Regions from separate parts of the Homo sapiens genome. Here region 1 is linked to region 2. Evidence: promoter capture Hi-C in human tissues and cell types (Jung and others, 2019). All regions are on one chromosome and are shown on one strand. Each heading gives the region's core, a stretch centred on a gene start or on the middle of the fragment in contact. The rest is flanking DNA. Distances are from core to core; before and after follow the strand shown. Region 1 overlaps AMD1 (adenosylmethionine decarboxylase 1). Region 2 holds the start of PPIL6 (peptidylprolyl isomerase like 6).

What was found. Contacts are between HindIII fragments. The study calls those that stand out against the background at their distance.
Region 1: a fragment that was not itself captured here is called in contact with the fragment with the promoter of PPIL6 in region 2 in 1 of the 25 tissues and cell types used here (dorsolateral prefrontal cortex).

What each region holds. Positions count from the first base shown.
Region 1 is chr6:110,876,165-110,880,025 of GRCh38, reverse strand. All of the region lies in intron 1 of AMD1 (adenosylmethionine decarboxylase 1), which reads right to left. Among named protein-coding and RNA genes, the nearest start is that of AMD1, 3.3 kb to the right of the region's middle. RefSeq lists an enhancer at 3,389-3,861. The HindIII fragment of the contact is 3,078 bases long and covers 596-3,673 here.
Region 2 is chr6:109,438,466-109,442,231 of GRCh38, reverse strand. It overlaps PPIL6 (peptidylprolyl isomerase like 6), which reads left to right and starts at 1,604. Exons shown (of 8, transcript NM_173672.5): 1 at 1,604-1,776. The coding sequence starts at 1,642. SMPD2 (sphingomyelin phosphodiesterase 2) reads right to left here and starts at 1,508. Exons shown (of 10, transcript NM_003080.3): 1 at 1,061-1,508; 2 at 779-875; 3 at 604-680; 4 at 165-258; 5 at 1-22. The coding sequence starts at 1,110. RefSeq lists enhancers at 624-703, 864-933 and silencers at 1,347-1,552, 1,194-2,013. The HindIII fragment of the contact is 4,118 bases long and covers 1-3,430 here.

The DNA of each region.
Region 1 (3,861 bases), core at 885-3,384, 1.4 Mb before region 2:
TGAGATGGCACCACTGCACTCGAACCTGGGTGACTGAGACTGTCCAAAAAAAAAAAAGACCAAGAACTTAAATACAGAAGGATCCCATTAGTGCAGGGTTATGCTCTAATCACCTGAAAACTCAATACATAGATGCTATTCCCATACCCAGTTAGGTCAGACACTTTCTGAGGATGATGCCTGCAAATTTTTATTTGAAAAGCTTCCAGGTCATTAGATTACTCATTACTTCCTAATGTAAAACCAGCTGGTTTCAGAGTTCAGGTAATTTATCCAAAGTCACTGCAGCTTCTCAATTCTGCTCTTACCTCATATTTTTAGGTCTGTTTTAGAGGCTCTCATTACAGTACATTCATCAGGGTGCCTCTACCCCAGGTAGTAAGCAGTCTTTAGGTAAAAGGCATCCTAAAACCAGATCATTCTTGAGTAAAGCTAGACTGACCAGAAGTTAGATTCTGAGGGTGCCTTCCTGCGGCAGTGAATTCAGATAACCTGAGAAATAAGCCTCCTCCCTTTTGTTCAAAGATATGAACCTATTATCATCACATTATTGTTTCTCTATCTCAAATTTTTACCCCAAATCGGGATACTCCTCTCAGTTTTCTGCTACTTTCAACATGTGCTTCTTAAAGATACATGGTTTGTAAACAACAGTTGAAATATTTTCGTTGTTGTTGAGAGGGTTTCACTCTGCCACCAGATGGAGCGCACTGGTGCAATCTCATTTCGCTGCAGCCTCGATCCCCCAATGGCTCAAAAAAATCCTCCCACCTCAGCTTCCCGAGTGGCTGGGATGCAGACACGCACCAGGATGGACCAGCACGCACAGATAATTTTTCAATTTTTTTTGTAGAGTCAGGATTTCACTATGTTGCCCAGACTGGGCTCTCAAACTCCTTGGTCTCTCAGAGTGCTGGGATTAGACATGAGCCACCAAGCCCAGCCATGAAACCTTTTTGAAACTGCTGGGAGGAATGTAACGAGAAGCTTTATTCTTTAGCAGGAAGCATTTCTACTCTGAAACATTACACTAAAAGGTTTTTTGGCAACGGGTTGTAAATTCCTTCAATGTAAATTATTGATATTGCAATAATGCTGCATAATGATGTAGTCAAATAAGTCATGAGTTTGGGGAAAGTTAAGCTGAGGTATGACTATCTTTACAACTGCCCCAATCCTTTACTAAAAATTATGTTTTAGTTTATAAAATCTGAGTAAAGCACAGTAATAGGATTTCCAGTCCTGAAAAATCATTCTTTTCTCAGCAAAATTTTCTATTTTCTAACAGATTTCCTTCTTACTACTCTCACCCTCCCTAAAGCTGCCATGTCTTATAAAAAGCTTTTGTTTGTTACAGCACTTTGATCCAACAACTAAACCATTTTTTAAATGGTCACTGATTTTTATTCAACATCCGTAAAATCTGAAAAATCAGAGAAAACTGCAGGTTACCCCTAAGAAACCGCCTCTCCCTTAATTGTCCTTTATTCATCTGGATATACCTGGACTGCTGCTTTTCTCCAACAGTATTGTTTAACCCAAGCTATATCATAAAAGATTTTTCTTTGTTAAATTTCTCAGTATTACATAATTTGTTCACTTAAGATAAAATATCTTAAATGGTCTACAAGAGGGAAGCAGTGTTTAGTAAAAAGGTGTACATTCAGAAAAGATTCCAAGCATTAAAGCTTGGACTGATGAGCCAAGTTTGTTTAAAGTGTATTCCCTCACACCACACACAAAATCAATTCCAGATGGATTGCAGATCTAAATATGAAAGGTAAATATCGTGTAGGAGAAAAAAATATTTCAGACTTTGGGATGAGAAAACCGAGGGAAGTATGTTGTTTCCCAGAAGAATGCGTGAAAAAAGTTGGATATTTTCTCCCTTGAATTATACAGAACACTCCAGTGAAATCATCTGGGCCTAGATGATTGACTGATTCAAGTTATTTAGGTGTTCTAGGACTGTTTTGGGTTCTCCATTTCTTCTTGCATTAGTTTTGGAAAGCTATTTTTCCAGGATTTTTTTCTCCCTCATATCCTTATCTTGTTATCCTTGTCTTTAGCATCAATACTAATGCTCTCTTTGGACATTTAAGCCTTTCATTCTCTTAATCGTTTTTATGTCCCTATGTTTATTATGCTTTATAAACAGATTTGTTTAATTCCATCTGTTCATCTTTTAACCTACTTTTAGTTTATTCACATCTTAATAGAGCCCAGGAGGTCAAGGCTGCAGTGAGCCATGATCCTGCCACTGCACTCCAGCCTGGGCTATAGAGGGATCCTGTCTTTAAAGTGTTAAAGATAACAGTTTACGTACTACATATAACATATTAACTTATTTATTCTTCACAACTTCCATGAGCTATGTACCATTATTGTCTCCATTTTACAGATGAGGAAACAGCTCACACAGCTATTAAATGCTGTTTGAATTCAAATCTTGTTATTCCAGAGGCTATGCACTTAATCACGTCATTTGAGTAAAACATGTCACGCTTTATTCTTCTAGATGACCGATTATCCTTCCCTGGGGTCTCTGGGGCTGGCCCCATGTCCCCACCGACCGGACTCCGTCCATGATACTCTCTTTGCTAGGCTGTTGATTTTAGGTGATTCAAGGAACACCTACTATTTCAGGCTTTTTTAAACATCCTGGTAAATAACCTAACCACTTGAGTGGTCACTGAAAAATGTTCCAACGAAGGTTATCACGGGACCTTAGTTAAATCAACATATTTTTCAGTTCTTGCTTAACTTGCTTTATCTACAACAGTTACAATGTGGCAGTGTACTACCAATAGTTGTTCAATGAATGTTACATGTCCACAAAATGGATGGCACTAAATCATCTACACAAGGGAATATTTTGTCCTTCAAAGTTTAACTTTGGCCATGATTTTAAAAGCCACACTGGAGCAGTAAAACAATTTGGGCTGATTAAAGTACAAAGTAAAAAGGGTTCTTAAACATTTAAAGAAAGCAGGCTGCTTTGTAAAAAGCCTCTTCCTCCTCTCTCCACTTTGACTCAGGAAGCTCTAAACAGCCAAACCGCCAAGAACTTGGGGAGAACAAAATCTTCTTCCCTTTATTAAGAACATGTACTTACTATTATTTAAGGGCTCAAACATTTAAAAAGCCAAAGTGACAACTTCTGTTATTCGTTTTCTAGGACTGTTCTTACCCAAGATTTTCTAGGTTCTTGCCAAGATTTTCTAGGTTAATTATCCTGATCACAATCGTTTTACCAAACGTCTATCACAAATACCATCTTTCTCATCTGTGAAATGAAGGAAATACTAAGCTTCTCCATGACCAAAGTCCGCTTCCTATAATCTCACGTGAGCCTGGCACGTAGTAAGCGCTATAGACATTTTAAGTGTCACACGAAGCTTGAAAAAAATGAGACGTGTGACATTTTAGCTATGACTAGTATTTTTTTCTACAATGGAATCGTTCAAGATACACTGCTAGAAACCGGGTTTCCCGTCGTGCCTTAAAGTCTCGGTAGCACGTGTCTGCCTGGATTCCCTTTTCCAGTTGCTTTTTGTCAAGGGACAGCTCCAAGAACAGCTAACACTCCTAAAACGCCCATTGGTCCACACCCTGGGGCCAGGCTCTGAGTGCGGCCCAGGAGCCCATTGGTCGCCGCCTCTCAATGAAGCTGGCCACGCCAGTTACTCCGCTGCACCGCCACCCTAGCCGCACTCGTGCGCAGAGGAGCCAGGGATCCGGTGGCAGGGCCTAGGAAGGCCATTGGTGGCCACCGGTGCGACCGCCGCCAGGAACAAGGCCTAAGCATCCACGGGATCTCTGGGCTTTTATATAAGCATGGATTTCCACAGCAATACCAAC
Region 2 (3,766 bases), core at 355-2,854:
TGAACCAGTCACCATGATGGATCTGCAGGCAGGAGGAGATAGAAACTCAGGGCACCGCCACCATCTTTCTGCCCATCCCCTGCAGCTCTCAGAGGGCTGCCTCCTCTACCTTGTATTACTGGAGGTGGGGAAGGGAGGTGGAAGAGGTCAAAGGTCTGCCTTACCATGTAGGGGTAGCCATTGAGAGTGTAGATGTGCTGGGTAAGCTCCTGGATTGGATGTTTGGAGAAGACACAGAGGCCACTGCCAATGATTCCGCTGAAAGCCAAGCCCTGCTTAATAACCAGAAAAACAGGGAGAGACACCCAGCCTTCTTCCCCTCCCTTGTCTTCCAGCTCTGATCAGCTATTTTTTTCTTTTTCTACTGCTGGGACTAGCCCTAGAACCAAGGCGACAGCCTTTGGAGGAGTATAGGGCAGCCAGAAAACAAAGCTGAAATGGGCTGAAGTCATAGGACCTTCTTGGTTCACCCTTCTCCTTCTCTCACATCCAGAGGGAGAGGAGGCTGGAGGAGACTGGAGAGTGCAGGCAGGATAGGGAAGGGCTGGCAGGGCCAAGAGCCTCCTGGGATGACAACAGGCTTCAGGCCAGTGGGCTTCTCACCTCCGGAAGTGGTGTGCAGCTGGGTAGGTAGGTGACAGCTTCTGTCTCAGGTACTGGAAGTCCTGCTCACTCCACACCTGAGGGAAGCGGTGAGGATGCCTGCTTGGTCTTTCCCCAGTGGGACGGTCTGTCCCTCCTCCCAGCCTGGGTTCCGCACCGTGCTGCACAATCTCACCTCCTCCAGCAAAGCCAGGTCGAAGCTCTCCTGGTTCAGAAAGTCTCCCAGGCGCCTCATGCGGTCGGCCCGGTGCTTGCTCAAGTACGGAATGCCCCTAAGGAAGGGAAGAGCGGGGCAGGGGAGGCGACTGCTGGGACCACCGGCGCTGGGGCCAGATGTGGACTTTGGAGGTTCGGGTTTTCCCTACACCCTGAGATCGTGGGGCGGGATAGGGGGAGGAAGGCTGCATGGGTGCGAACGGAAGGTGGCCCCCAGACCGCACTCCGCAGACGCACTCACCAGCAGTTGAGGTTGAAGATCCGCAGTCGCAGGGAGAAGTTGGGCTTCATGGTTGGGGAGCTCCAGGGGCGCTAGGCGGCTCGAACTCTCCAGCGACGGCCGCGGTGGGGACGGGGGCGGCCGGCGGCGCCTTCTCCCCAGACCGTTCCTTCTTCGCAGGCGGCGCGCACAGGTGGGCACCAAGCCCGCGTGGCTCAGGTCGGGCCCGACTCCCGCGTTCCCCCGGCAACCGGCCGGCTGTTCCCAATCAGGCGGGCCGCCAACCCGGAAAGGCGATCCGCTGCCGAAATCCGGGCGCCCAGGCTCGGTAAGGGCCGCGCGCTAGGACCCTGGGGGTCCGGAGAGCGCCCCCGGGTGGGCGGCTCCCGGTTCCTTTTCCTCCAAGCTCGTCCCCGGCGGTCGCGGCCGCCCGCGCGCCGGCGGCCCAGCAACAGGCGCAAAGTTGAGGAAAGGCCCAGCCGCCACGGGCCGCCCTCGACCCGCCCCTGGGCCCCGCCTCCTGCGAGCGGCGGAGGCGGGGCCGCGCGGTTGCCGGAGCGACGCGCAGTGTTTGGGGTCACCGGGCGTCCCCGGGCGCGGCCATGGCAAGGCCGCAGCCGTGCGGGCCCCCGCACGCTAGGTGCGGCTCGCCGTCGCTGCCGGAGCGGCCGCTGCAGGTGAAGGTGGTGGGGCTCTTCAGCTGCCCCAACTTTCAGATTGCGAAGAGCGCCGCTGAGGTAACCACAGAGAAACCTCCGTCGTGGGCGGCCCTCCCCGCTACCCGCTCTCGGCCGCGTGGACTGCAGGCGCCGCGCCTCCTCGAGGCGGCGGGGGTCGAGGCCCCACCGGCCGAGGAAGGGGCTGGCGTGTCCTGGCCGGGCGGGCTCCGTCTGGAGGACCGGGAGGAGAGTATAGGGGGGCAAGTGCGGGTCCGGGGGCGGGCGTTCCACTTGGCGACTTTTAAAGGGAGAACTGAGCGAAGGAAGGGTTCAGAACCGCGCTGGGAGATAAGGTAATCCCCTCCGAGACACACACACACACACCCGCAGATTTTGTTCTACGTCAATTTTTTCTTTAATTAGAGATATTTAAATTTATGGAAAAATGATTACTATATAACTAGCTAATTTTTACAACCCCGCCACCTCGGCCCAAGCGATTTTTGTTAACTATTCATGCGGGGAGATTCTTTTCTTTGAATTTTATAGAGCCGTCACTGCGTTCCAATCGAACTAGATGCTTCACAAGTGCTTTGGAAAATCATTTCTTTGTAAACACTCAGAACGATACTAAAGGAAAAGCACTTGAGGAAACTGGAAGAATTTGGCCAGATCAGTCATGCTGCAGCACACTTACAACCTGAAATGCAGGAGAAATGTATGAAATGTCGGCATGTAGAATTCAGCCCTTCTTACAGGGTTTGCTCCAGAAATGCTGTCCATGGCAAACTTCTCGCCGAAGCTCACTTGACTCCAGGACCATGCCTTAATTAATGTTTTTAACTCCCGAAGTACCCAGCTGGATACTTGACAACAAAATGTTCCCAAATAGAAGATATCTTGGCGCGGTGACTCACGCCTATAATCTCAGCACTTTGGGAGGCAGAGGCGGAGTTCTAGACCAGCCTGGCCAACATGGTGAAACCCCGTTTCTACTAAAAATACAAAAAATTAGCCGGGCGTGGTGGCGGTCTCTGTAATCCCAGCTACTCAGGAGGCTGAGGCACAAGAATCGCTTGAACCCGGGAGGCGGAGTTTGCAGAGAGCTGAGATCGCGCCATTGCCCTCCAGCCTGGGCGACAGAGCCAGACCCCGTCTCAAAATAAATAAATAATAAAAAGAAAACAAGTGATCAGAAGTCTGTGAAAATAATACATGAATCATCAAAAGTAGAAATTGTGGTCTGTGTTGCTTGGGCAGACGGGATCAGCAACCTTTTATTACCAAAGTTAATGGCCATGAAGTTAATTACAAAGTTAATGTATTAATGAGTTTCAGAGATTTTTTTTCTCTTTTTTTTCGCTCTTTTTCTGAAGGCACATATTTTCTGTGCCGACTCCACATTGTAAAGAAAGTGTTGACAAGTTTTTTTCTGTAAAGTCCAGATAGTAAATATGTTAGGCCTTCTTGGCAATAGGGTCTCAGTCACACCTGTTTAGCTTTTTCCTGTGTTGCAAAAGCAGACACAGAGATGGAAATGAATGACAGTATTCCAGTAAAACCATATTATGGACACGAAATTTGACTTGCGTATAATTTTCACATAACGTGAAATACAATTCTTTTGATTTTTTAGAATTGTTTACAGGCCGAGCGCGGTGGCTCTTGCCTATAATCCCAGCACTTTGGGAGGCTGAGGCGGGCAGATCACGAAATCGGGAGTTCAAGACCAGCCTGGCCAACATGGTGAAACCCCATCTCTACTAAAAATACAAAAATTATCCAGGCATGGTGGCGGGCGCCTGTAATCCCAGCTACTCGGGAAGCTGAGGCTGGAGAATCGCTTGAACCCGGGAGGTGGAGGTTTCGGTGAGCTGAGATCGTGCCACTGTGCTCCAGCCTGGGCAACAAGAGTGAGACTCTGTCTTAAAAAAAAAAACAAAAAACTGTTTACAAATCTAAAAATTATTCCTCTCCAACCCCTGATGTAGAAGACAGTAGGTCGAGAAAACAATATCTTTATTGTATTAATAATGTCAATTTTCCCTTTCTTAAACTTTTACCTACT